Linked DNA regions of Homo sapiens: regions 2, 3 and 4 are each linked to region 1. The links are contacts of gene promoters, found by promoter capture Hi-C in blood cells and fetal thymus (Javierre and others, 2016). All regions are on one chromosome and are shown on one strand. Each heading gives the region's core, a stretch centred on a gene start or on the middle of the fragment in contact. The rest is flanking DNA. Distances are from core to core; before and after follow the strand shown.

Region 1 (2,810 bases), core at 117-2,616:
TAACTTGATAAGCAAGAAGGTAATTATAGCTTAAAACAATAACCAAGGAAGTTAGATTCCCTATAGAAACGAAAGATAACATCTTAACATATGTCCCTGAATTGTTTCTCAGAAACCCAGACCCCCAACAAAACAGATCCACTGGCATGCAGACCTCAGACAAGGGGGAAATGAGGACGGAACTGACCACCATTCTTTCTTCTAAATTTCTTCCTGAAGGGCAAGGAGGAAGTCACACCCACGAGCCAGAGCTAACATTCATTTTTGCTGACCCCAAATTTTTAACAAAGCTTCTCTTCCTTCACTGATGGCAAGTCAGAAAATCTTTGAATGTATAACCTATAAGCACCCTCACTTTAAAGATTTTCAAGATATCCCAGCTTGTTAGACCAAACCAATGTGCAACCTCCGTGTATTATGATTTTGCCTGTAACTTCTGCTTTCTTGAAATTAACCCTGCGTTTAAAAATCCTTACTTGCAAGCCAACTGAAGGTCAGGATTTAAGCAAGAGCTGCCCCATTCTCCTTGCCTGGAGCTCTGCAGATAAGCGCCCTCTTTTCTCCCAGTGCAAACCTTAGTGCGGATGGCTTGGCCTTACTGCACCAGAAGAACGGACCTCAGTTTTTAGGTAACACTGTGCCCCAGACATCTGGCCACTTTATGTCTGAAAGGGCCAATGTGGTGATGGGGGCTGGGGGACGCCTCAAGGCTGGCGGAGCCTGGTGCCTTTCTAGAATTTGGTGGGTGCAGGACGGGTGAGGGGCGGAGGCAGAGGATCAGGAGAAGAAAAAGAGATAGTGGCTGCTGGCCCCAACATTTTGAAGCAAAGAACAAGAGGAGTATTTTACGAAGATTGGCGGATGGTGTATTGTGTTGATGCCTTAACTGCAGTCGACGAAATCTCCAGGAAGGATCCTCCTCCCGTTCATTCTCGACGGTGGCGCATCCACTTTCGGAAGGCCGGGCCTCGAAGGGTGGGCGCGCGGGGCAGGAGCAGGACCACCCCGATGCCCCCATTCCTTCCCGGGAGGCGGGGCCCACAGGCCTGGGGTGCGGCAAGGCAGGAGCCAGTGCCGTGAAGGGCAACCCAGGGCTGGTCTCCCGCCAACCTGTCTGCAGCCCGAGCACCTGGGCCAGGGGCGGAGACCGGACCAAGGAGGCACCGGGCGCGGCGAACACCCCCGGGGCCCCTCCCCGAGCGGGGCCCCGCGTCCCACCGCAAACCAGGGGAGCTTGGGCACCACCTGGCTGGCACCGCCGGGCCCGGCCGGAGGGGGGCGCAGGAGGGCGGCGCGGGGGCAGGTGCGGGGCGGGGCACGGGGGCGGGACCACACAGGGCCGCGGCAGCCGCGCCCGCTGGGCCACAGAGGCCGCTGAGGCCGCGGCGCCCGCCAGCCTGTCCCGCGCCATGGCCCCGCGCGCCCGGCGGCGCCGCCCGCTGTTCGCGCTGCTGCTGCTCTGCGCGCTGCTCGCCCGGCTGCAGGTAAGGAGCGCCCGCGCCTGCCGGGCCGCGCGGCCCGACGCCTCCTCGGGAGCCCCGGGAAGGGCCGGGGCCGGCGGCATCCTGGCTCCTCCGCCTTCCGAGAGGAGCCGGAGTTTTGGGGAGCGGAGGCCGTGGGAAGCTGGGGAGGCGCTTCCAGAGTTGGACGGCGGAGGGCGGGAAAGGGCAAGCGGAGGGAAACTGGGGCGCAGAAGGAGCAGGTTGGCGGGACCGCAACACCCGAAACGGGCTCTTCCAAAAGCCCCTCTTAGCCGCAGGCTTTGATGCTGTCATTTTCTCCAAATGCTTCTTGAGCACCTACTAAGCGCTTGCGCCGGGCGGTGCCGCGGGAGACAGCGCCGTGGGCACCTCACTTGCGGCAGATAACCGTTCCCGATACGATTTCTCCCGGGTGGCCTCCGTCCCAAATTTCCACCCGGAAAGAGACATGATTCCCTCCGTCCCTGAACTGCGGGCTTGCCTTTGCCTCCCCTGAGCCCCTTCGGGGACACCCCTGCCAGCTCGCCTGGAGGCCCCGCACGGCGGGGAGAGACTGCGCGCGCGCCCCGGGGATGCTGGACTTGACCCTCGCAGACCCGAGTGGCTTCCCGGTCCTCTCGGAACAGGTTTCTCAGTACAGTTAGCAAGCGAATGCAGCCAGGCACGGACTTTCTGCCTCGTGGAGGAGGGCCGCAGAGGGAAGCACACCCAGCACAACAAACGCTTTAAAAATCGTTGATACGAACTTGAAAGCTCTCACAGGGAAGGGCGAGTGGTGGTTTTCTTGGTTTCGGCTGGGTCAGATTTCCCCTCTGTTAACACTAGGTTAGGCTGCTGCCGTCCCTCCGCAGCCGGGCACGGAACCCGGAGAGGCGTGGGGAGGGACGCATGGAGAATCGTGTTTGGGTGAGAAGAGAGGGGAAAAGCCTTGACAGAAATAATGTGGGTGCACTGAAGGCTGAAGCAAAAGATTCTAGGGAAGATTCATTCCCAATTGTATGGGTCTGTCAGTATGGTTGAGGGAAACGAAGGCGGAAAAGTCTAAAGGATTTTTTCATTTTAAGCACTTCAGGTGTTGCTTAATTAAGTGTTCAACAGGTTGAACGGGGTGCTACCTTATTTGAACCAAAGGACCAGGGTTTCAGCGAACAGCTAGCCACCTAAGAAAAACCTGCCTGACCACGCAGTTGCAAAATTATCTCTCACTGCTGTCGCAAAATGACATATTCATATGTGCATAAAAGGCGTTCGGTTCTAATATGAACAACAAATGCTATCAAAATAAGTTTATTTTTCAGGGAGACCTTTCAACAAATGCTGTTTCCCGTC
Region 2 (2,810 bases), core at 208-2,707, 240 kb after region 1:
CTCGCAGATATGGGGGGAGGTCCCTGTGTATATGTTACAAGTATGGAATGAAACTTCTCTCTAGAAAATTGATTCATTAACCCGATGTTGTCCCTGGCCAACGCTCAGATCCAAATGTTAACTCTTCTTGGAATGTGTTTTTATGCATTAAAGCATATTCTGAGAAATTATAAATAGTTTTAGTCATAATTAGTGACCTATTTTCAAAGCCCGTCTGAGTTTACTTTCCCTCCCCTACTCCAGTGCCTGCACCCTCTCTTCTTAGAGTTGACGTAGTTAAGTGTTGACAGTTATATGGAATTGTACTTGAAGAGAATAGTAGTAAACCTACAGCAAGTGCCAGTCACTTGATTGTGTTTCATTTTATAGTCAGAAAAAAGAATGTAGGTCCATTTTCAAAGAAAAATAGAAAATAATACTGTATTAATCATGAGGAAAATATGTAAGTGTCACAGAATATGTAAATTTTAGTGGTTCAGGTGGGAAACTTCAAAAATAGGTTGGAAATCAACACTTGTTAGAATATACAACTGGGAATCTATCATTTTAATGTTTATTATGAGAGTAAAAACGTCAAAATGGTTTAGCTTTTGTCTGATTTGTCTTTTTATTCTTTCTACTAGCATTCTGCTGAAAAACGGAGTTTATCTTCAATAAATAAGAAGAAAGGAAAGCCACAAACAGAAAAGTAGGTTCAATTTAAGGAAAGACAGCATATAGCCTTTGATAATAGGCCTGTTTAGTTTATGATAGTATACAACATAGTATTTTTTTAGTTAGTTTTCTTTATATTTTTAATTCTGGGTTTTACTCTTTTGGTTCAAAATATTAATATATGCAGGTGATAAAAATAAAGCTACTGTCAAATATTGCATTCAGTTTGGAGGGGTAAAACTCTCAGAACTTTCCACGGAAGGGCGAATCTTAATTGTATTTAGATTATTCCTTACTAAAAAAATTTGAAGAGTCTTGAAGGAAATTTTATCAATACTGTACTGAATGTGTTTGGTAGATAACCTTATTAAAATGTTGGCAATATGTTCATTTGGTTTAGGGAGAAAATTAAGAAAACTGACAACAGATTGAATAGTAGAATAAATGGTATTAGACTCTCCACTCCTCAGCATGCCCATGGTGGTACTGTGAAAGGTAAGAAGGTTATTTTTCTTTCAAATACCCATCACATAAATATATTCAGCATGATACTTACTGTATTAATAGATACTGAGCTGTTGTGTCAAATCCTAATACTATAAGTTTACCTTGTGTTGATATGTACAGCAATTTCCAAATTAAACAGTTCTGAAATCAATGGAGTTAATTTAGGGAATACAAACCAGCCATGGGGGTGGAGATTGCCTTTGCCTCAGTGATTCTCACCTGCCTCTCCCTTCTGGCAGCAGGAGTCTCCCAGGTTGTTCTTCTCCAGCCAGTTCCAACTCAGGAGACAGGTCCCAAGGCCATGGGAGATCTCTCCTGTGGCTTTGCCGGCCGCTCATGAGAGTGTTTTTGTGTAAAGTATTTTTTAGAATACTGTTGACTTCTTCATGATTTAATAACCATCCTTTGCGAAGTTTTATGAGGCTTTAGGGGAATGTCAACCCTCAAATTTTTGTTATACTAGATGGCTTCCATTTACCCACCACTATTTTAAGGTCCCTTTATTTTTAGGTTCAAGGTTCATTTGACTTGAGAAAGTGCCCTTCTGCAGCTTCATTGATTTTGTTTATCTTCACTATTAATTGTAACGATTAAAAAAGAATAAGAGCACGCAGACCTCTAGGAGAATATTTTATCCCTGGGTGCCCCTGACACATTTATGTAGTGATCCCACAAATGTGATTGTTAATTTAAATGTTATTCTAATATTAGTACATTCAGTTGTGATGTAATATGAATAACCAGAATCTATTTCTTAAAAGTTTTGAGTATATTTTTCAACTAGATATTTGTATAGAAAGACTGAATAGTGATGAAGAAAAAAAATAGTTACCTTTTGAATCTGAAATAATCTGGGCCAGACACGGTGACTCACACCTGTAATCCCAGCACTTTGAGAGGCCAAGGTGAGTGGATCACCTGAGGTCAGGAGCTCGAGACCAGCCTGACCAACATGATGAAAACCTGTCTCTACTAAAAATACGAAAATTAGCCAGGCGTGGTGGCACATGCCTGTAATCTCAGCTACTCGGGAGGCTAAGGCAGGAGAGTCGCTTGAACCCGGGAGGCAGAGGTTGCAATGAGCCACGACTGCGCCATTGCACTCCAGCCTGGGCAACAAGAGTGAAACTCCATCTCAAATAAATAAATAAATAATAAATTAAAAAACTAAAATCATCTGGCCAACTCATTGAAGCATTGGAAGTGGGAGTAAAATAACATGGACAAAACCCATCTTGTCTGTAGAAGGATCTTGTAACACTTACTATCTCTGAGGTTCCCTCTGGTGGCGATGGCAGCTTAACGGAGGAGGAACAAGCTAAATGAGGAAGACAGAAGTCTGTCGGTGGACATTTGGAGATTGATGCTGCTGGCCCTCCCTGTCTCTGTTCCTTCTCTTTCTAGTTCATTTTCCATACTGCTGCCGTGTTTGTTTTCTAAAATACCATTTTCTGAATGAAATTCCTGCCCTCCACAAGCTCACTCTGTCTCTTGTCTCACAGTGTTTGGGAACTACTGCTCACTAAAGAAGTTTGCAACTGTTTTTTCGATGTTAGCCCATTTCCAGAGGAGAAGCACGTGGACGTTGGTCAGAGACAGTTAGGGTTTGAGTGTTGTGCTCCCCCAGTTTATTAAGCATGTGACCTCTC
Region 3 (2,810 bases), core at 115-2,614, 210 kb after region 1:
AAGCGTGGAACAAGTGTAGATTTGAATTGAATCTTCAATGGGTGGATGCTGACTGGCTGTGCTTATTTAATATACCTTCCAAATCAGACTATTAGCAGCCTAGGCAACATACCAAGACCCCATCTCTAAAAAAAATTAGCCTGGCATGGTGGTACATGCCTGTAGTCCTAGCTACTCAAGAGACGGAGGTGGGAAGATTGCTTGAGCAGAGAGGTCAAGGCTGAAGTGAGCCGTGATTGCGTTGCTGTGCAATCCAGCCTGGGAGACAGAGGGAGATCCTGTCTTAAAAAAAAAAAAAAAAATCTGATTATTTGTACTCCCTGTGTTAATTGAGCTTTTGTGTGTGGGTGCATAAATTGGTGCAGACCTAGCAGTGACATTTTGATAGGATGGAAAAGTCATATATTAACCTATTTTCTTATTGCTTGGATAGTTGATGGTAGGTAGCCTGTAGTGTTTGATCTCCAGTTTATGATCTACTTGAGGGGTGGTGTGAGTCAGATGTAGAATTGGGGTAGTGCCTTGTGTGATTGGAAAGATAATTAAACTTTGGTCACTGAAGTGAACGCTCTATAACATAAATGTTGGGGAATTTTTATGTTTCTTGTTAGAAATGTCTAAATTGGGATGTGTCCCGTAGTACAGTTGATTTTTGTCTTGGGTATCAAATGATTGAAATTCACTGGTGGTCCTAAATGGGAGACGGCATGGTCACATGTGAACCAAATGCTGTAATGTTTGGGAGTATTTGCTTGAAAAGAGGTCATCCCTCATACAGAGAGGTTGTGGCATTGAGTATTGAGTAGTTTTATTAGTTTGGGAAAATTGCCCATTCTATAATAACTAGTGGTGTGAAACACAAGTCCTAATGCAGTGTTGGCAACACTATATAGTAAATCAGTTACTGCCGTAGATCCTTCTTAGGTTCTATAAGCTTATGTTTCTACAAGGTTCCAAGAATGTTTTTGCACTGGGGGTGAAGCAGTGGCTCTGCTGCAGGTGCTAGAAGGCATGGAAGCTCCTTCCAGCTTCTGAGCCCAGGCTCACATCCTTCCTGACGACCCCTTGGCCTCCCTCCCTCATCTCTCGTGGGGCGAGACTGCGACAGCGAAGGCAGAGTCAGATGTGGGCTGGGGAGGAGATGTGCGCTTCTCTAGATCCTTGTGCACTCATGCATGCATTCTTTTCACCTCACCCCAGAACACCCTGATGTGGGGACTTAAAGATGTGGGGGCTGCTGGCCCAGGGATATAGCAATTTCTGGATCATCTTCCTAGTTCTAGGGTTAAAAGATGTTTTCCTTCTGTAGTGAGAGCATGTTGGCAAAGGAAGCACAGATGCCAGTGCTGAAGGAGGAGACCTATGAATCTGCCTATTTAAAGAACAGAATTACCCCCAAACTTAGTGGTGTAAAACAATGACCATTTTATTACCATCTCTCACAGTTTTGTGGGTGAGGGATTTAGACAAATAACTATAGTGAAGAGTTTGTCTCTGTTCTAGGGTGTCTGGGACACAGCTGGGGCCCAGATGGCATCCCTAGACCCCTCTCCTCTCTCCACGTGGTCCATCAAGTGCGGCTGCCAGGAGAAGTGCATGTCTCATGTGGTGTCTCAGGACTCCAAGCCCAAGTGTCCAGGAGGCCCAGGGCTGAGGCTTCCCAGGACCTAACTTTAGAAGAGCATCACCACCAGCACATTCTAAAGCCAGCCTAGATCCACTGGGTGGGGAATTGGTTCCACTTTTCAGCGGGAGGAATATTAAATAATTTTTAGCTACCTTTAATCCGCCACGGAAGCTTAATAGAATGTTGTTATATATTGCTGTTAATTTTCTAAGTCTCATTTGACAATTGGGAAAACTTCAGAAGAAGTTAGTGACTTTGGTTTTAAAAAATAAAAAACTCTTACTGCTGTGTTATTATATTTGGAATATCTTGGATTTTTAAATTTATAGTCTATATCGAGGGACTACAAGAACCATGTAGAATATTGTTAGACGAACTAAAACTCCATCTATGACCTTTGTTCTAATGGTATGTTTTCAGAGAAGAGTTTTTTAGGATGTCCAGCTACTTGGCTGTTTCACAAGGTCCCCACAGTTAAGAAATCTCAAGTATGTAATTGTGATGGGTCTACGTGTGATCTGTGGCAAAACCATCTAGACCACCTGAACCACATGCCGTGTAGGTTTGTGCTAACCAGTAGCTCTTGAGGCAAGCGATAGGACAGAAGAAGCTCTGCCTCAGGCGAGTTAAGAAAGGAGAATGCACTCCTACTAAAGTTCTTTGTATGCTTGTGCGTATTTTTGCAGGTTTAGAATCTTTAAACCCTGCTTTCTTGATACAAACAGAGAAAAATCCACTTTTCTCGTGGTCCTGACACTTTTCTCCAACTAGTCTTTGTAAAATACTGATTCTGGCATTTCATCTGTTCTGCATTTTCATGGGAATCTGAACTTAACAGATAAAGTGGGTGCCATTCCTCTTTATATGATTCCATTAAAGAAGGAGTTCTCAGATTTTATGCTACCCATCCCCCTAAGGAAAGTAAAGAGGGAGTGCAGGGCAGACAGCATCGCCGAGCAGCCACCCACCATTGGGGCTGCCGATTCTCATCTCCAGCTCATGCAGCGTTACATGAGTGAGTTTAGTAATAGCTTCTAAACATAGTCTACGTGATTTTATAGCATTGATACATGCTGAGACTTGGAGGAGAAAATAAACATTTAATTAGTAGATATATCATGGGTTGATGAACTTAGGACTTTGGATAGAAACTCAAACTTCATTTTTCTCCCTAGGTTATTAA
Region 4 (2,810 bases), core at 178-2,677, 150 kb before region 1:
AATTGTAAACTCTATGTGACTTTACAAAATCCCATATGAGAACTAATTTTCAAATTTTCTCATGGCAAGTAGACTAGAGGTTATTAGTTCTTTAGATGATTCCTGCCCACTTGAGTTCAAAATCTTTTATCTGTATCTCACATCCTTTTTCTGTTCCAGAAACTCTACCAGGATACCACAGGGCAGCTAGTCACCATATCTCCTTAGGCTTCTCTTGGCTGTGATAATTTCTCAGACTTTGCTTGTTTTGATGACCTTGTGAGTTTTGAGGAGTACTGGTCAGAGATTTTGTATAATGTCTTGCTATTGGGATTTATCTGATGTTTTTCTCATGGTAAGTCTGGGGTTATGGGTTCAGGAGAGGAAACATACATACATAAAGTACCATTTTCTTCACATCACATTAAGGGTACTGTCAACATGACTTACTAAACTGTTAATATAAAACTTGACCACTTGGCTGAGGCGGTTTGTTCAGTTTGTCCTCTGTAAAGTTCACTGTAAAGTTTCTCCATGTAAATGTTCCCCCATTTCATACTATAGTTTTTGGTAGGAAGTCACTACGTGCAGCCAACACTTAAAGAGTGAGGAGTTACACTCCACCTCCTGAGATGACGAGGCACCTACATAAATTGATGTTCTTCTGTATGAAGAGTATATATGTTAAACCCAGTCAATTGTGTAATTAAAAGCCATCTGTCGGTCAGGCCTGATGGCTCACACCTGTAATCCTAGCACTTTATGAGGCCAAGGCAGGTGGATCACTTGAGCTCAGGAGTTTGAGACCAGCCTGGGCAATGTGGTGAAACCCCATCTCTACAAAAAATGCAAAAAAATTAGTCAGGCATGGTGGCACATGCCTGTAGTCCCAGCTACTTGTGGGGCTGAGGCAGGAGGATTGCTTGAACCCCGGAGATCGAGGCTGCCAGTGAGCTGAGATCACGCCACTGCACTCCAGCCTGGGTGACAAAGTGAGACCCTGTCTCAAAATAAATAAATACATACATAAATAAAAGCCATCTGTCATTCTACAAGATTACATTAATATTATAATCATCATCATTTCCACTCCTGCTTTCCCCACCTTACTTGAAATTAATTTTTACCAGTATAGATGCAAAGCCATTATTTCTTTTATAAGCTTATTCTAATCAGTACTACCAAAAAAGCCTTATAAATGATCTCAAACATTCAAGACCTATATTCTATTATATGACTCTATTACAATTTAATTGAACACTATCCTGCTGATCAACATCACTCGCAGTTGTCATGATTACAAATAATATGGCAATTAAGCTGCTCTCTTATGGTAAAGGTGGAGATTTTTAGAATTTTTACAAACTGTAGAGTAGTGACCCATAACAAAATAATTTCATGGACTGCAATTAGCCTTCTTTCCTTTTTTTAAAAAATGAAATAGAATACAGTACAATAGGATTGGATAAAATATAGAATATATCACATCACAAAGTACTTCAGAAGTAGTACATGATTATTTTGAAAAAGTGTGTTTTTTTCCTGTGTATCCACGCATCAATATTCTTGCATGTACATAACCTGTACTGAAAGTTTTATTTTAAATTATTCTATGGACCAATAAGATTGAAAGCCACCTCTATAAGTGGAATTGCTCTAATAAACAAAATTTTCAACTTTACAAGTGACTGGCAAAGTGTCCATACTAATTTACATACTCTCCAGCAATGTACGAAAGCTTCTATATCTCTAAATCCCCCTAATTGCTTGATACTGTCATATTTACCTTAAGACAATTTGAACAGGCCAAATTGGCATCCTGTTATTTGAATATGTATTTGCCTGATTACTAGTGAGTATGAAAATTTTTTCATGTTTTTATTGGCCAATTGGGTCTCTCTTCCTTTCAACTGCCTATTCATATCCTTTGATCAGATAGGATTAGGGTTATTGACCTTTTATTTGACTTGTACATTACAATTATATGTGTGTGTATGTTTATATAGTGTGTGTATGTTTATACATAGCTAGATATACACATTTATATATAAATGTTGTTCATAGGGCCTTTTGTTAAAATAAATTTTTCAACTTTAATACAGTAAAATTTGTCAAACATTTATCCTTTCTGGTGTGAGTTTTTTGTGTCTTGTACTATAGAAGAAAACTTTCCTGGTTCTTATGTCACATATATTCTTCTAATAGTTTTAGATTTTTGTTTTTTACCTTTCATTATTTAAAATTTATTTGTGTTGGTTTGTGTCCTCTGAAACAAAAATAATTATTTGTATATGGTGTGAGGTAGACATCAGCTTATGTTTTTAACCAGCTCACAAGTATTAGTACTGCTACTAGTGTAGAATTTACTATGATAAAATTACACATCAGAAAGAAAAAGGTTTTAAACCTTTACATTCAAATCTTGGCTTTTGCTATTTGTAATAATAAAAAATTGGAAACAATATCTAACCATAGGGAACAGATAAATTGTTTATTCATAATGAAATACCATATTTCTGAAAAGGATACATCTCATAAATATCAGTATTAATAAAAAAAATTTTAAACATCTATTGCCCTTTTCTCCCCAACACAGTCAAACTTCTTGAAAAGGCTGAATGTGACCTCTTTTTTTTCCTGACCACCTAAATCTCAAACAACTTAAACCTTATTGTCATTACTTCATAAGAAAGTAAAGACAGTTAACAGTGCAAAATCTAATAGCTATTTTTTAGTCTTCATTTTCTAAGCAACCTAAGCTTCCTGGGCTAAGTCATCCTCCCACCTCAGCTTCCCAAGTAGCGGGGACCACAGGTGCATGTTTACCACAT

What was found. The method cuts DNA at HindIII sites, captures the fragments that hold promoters and counts their contacts. A CHiCAGO score of 5 or more calls a contact.
Region 2: a fragment that was not itself captured here is called in contact with the fragment with the promoter of TNFRSF11A in region 1 in 4 of 17 cell types (megakaryocytes, M1 macrophages, naive CD8 T cells and 1 more); the score reaches 7.1 in megakaryocytes.
Region 3: a fragment that was not itself captured here is called in contact with the fragment with the promoter of TNFRSF11A in region 1 in 2 of 17 cell types (megakaryocytes and M1 macrophages); the score reaches 6.2 in megakaryocytes.
Region 4: a fragment that was not itself captured here is called in contact with the fragment with the promoter of TNFRSF11A in region 1 in 1 of 17 cell types (megakaryocytes); the score reaches 5.9 in megakaryocytes.

The regions. Positions count from the first base shown.
Region 1 is chr18:62,323,944-62,326,753 of GRCh38, forward strand. TNFRSF11A (TNF receptor superfamily member 11a) reads left to right here and starts at 1,367. Exons shown (of 10, transcript NM_003839.4): 1 at 1,367-1,484. The coding sequence starts at 1,410. RefSeq lists silencers at 999-1,208, 1,259-1,458. The HindIII fragment of the contact is 5,361 bases long and covers 289-2,810 here.
Region 2 is chr18:62,563,948-62,566,757 of GRCh38, forward strand. ZCCHC2 (zinc finger CCHC-type containing 2) reads left to right here. Exons shown (of 14, transcript NM_017742.6): 10 at 624-688; 11 at 1,055-1,149. Among named protein-coding and RNA genes, the nearest start is that of ZCCHC2, 42 kb to the left of the region's middle. The HindIII fragment of the contact is 4,373 bases long and covers 1-2,810 here.
Region 3 is chr18:62,534,027-62,536,836 of GRCh38, forward strand. The region is part of intron 1 of ZCCHC2 (zinc finger CCHC-type containing 2); the gene reads left to right. Among named protein-coding and RNA genes, the nearest start is that of ZCCHC2, 12 kb to the left of the region's middle. The HindIII fragment of the contact is 864 bases long and covers 933-1,796 here.
Region 4 is chr18:62,178,761-62,181,570 of GRCh38, forward strand. The region is part of intron 1 of PIGN (phosphatidylinositol glycan anchor biosynthesis class N); the gene reads right to left. Among named protein-coding and RNA genes, the nearest start is that of PIGN, 6.9 kb to the right of the region's middle. The HindIII fragment of the contact is 576 bases long and covers 1,140-1,715 here.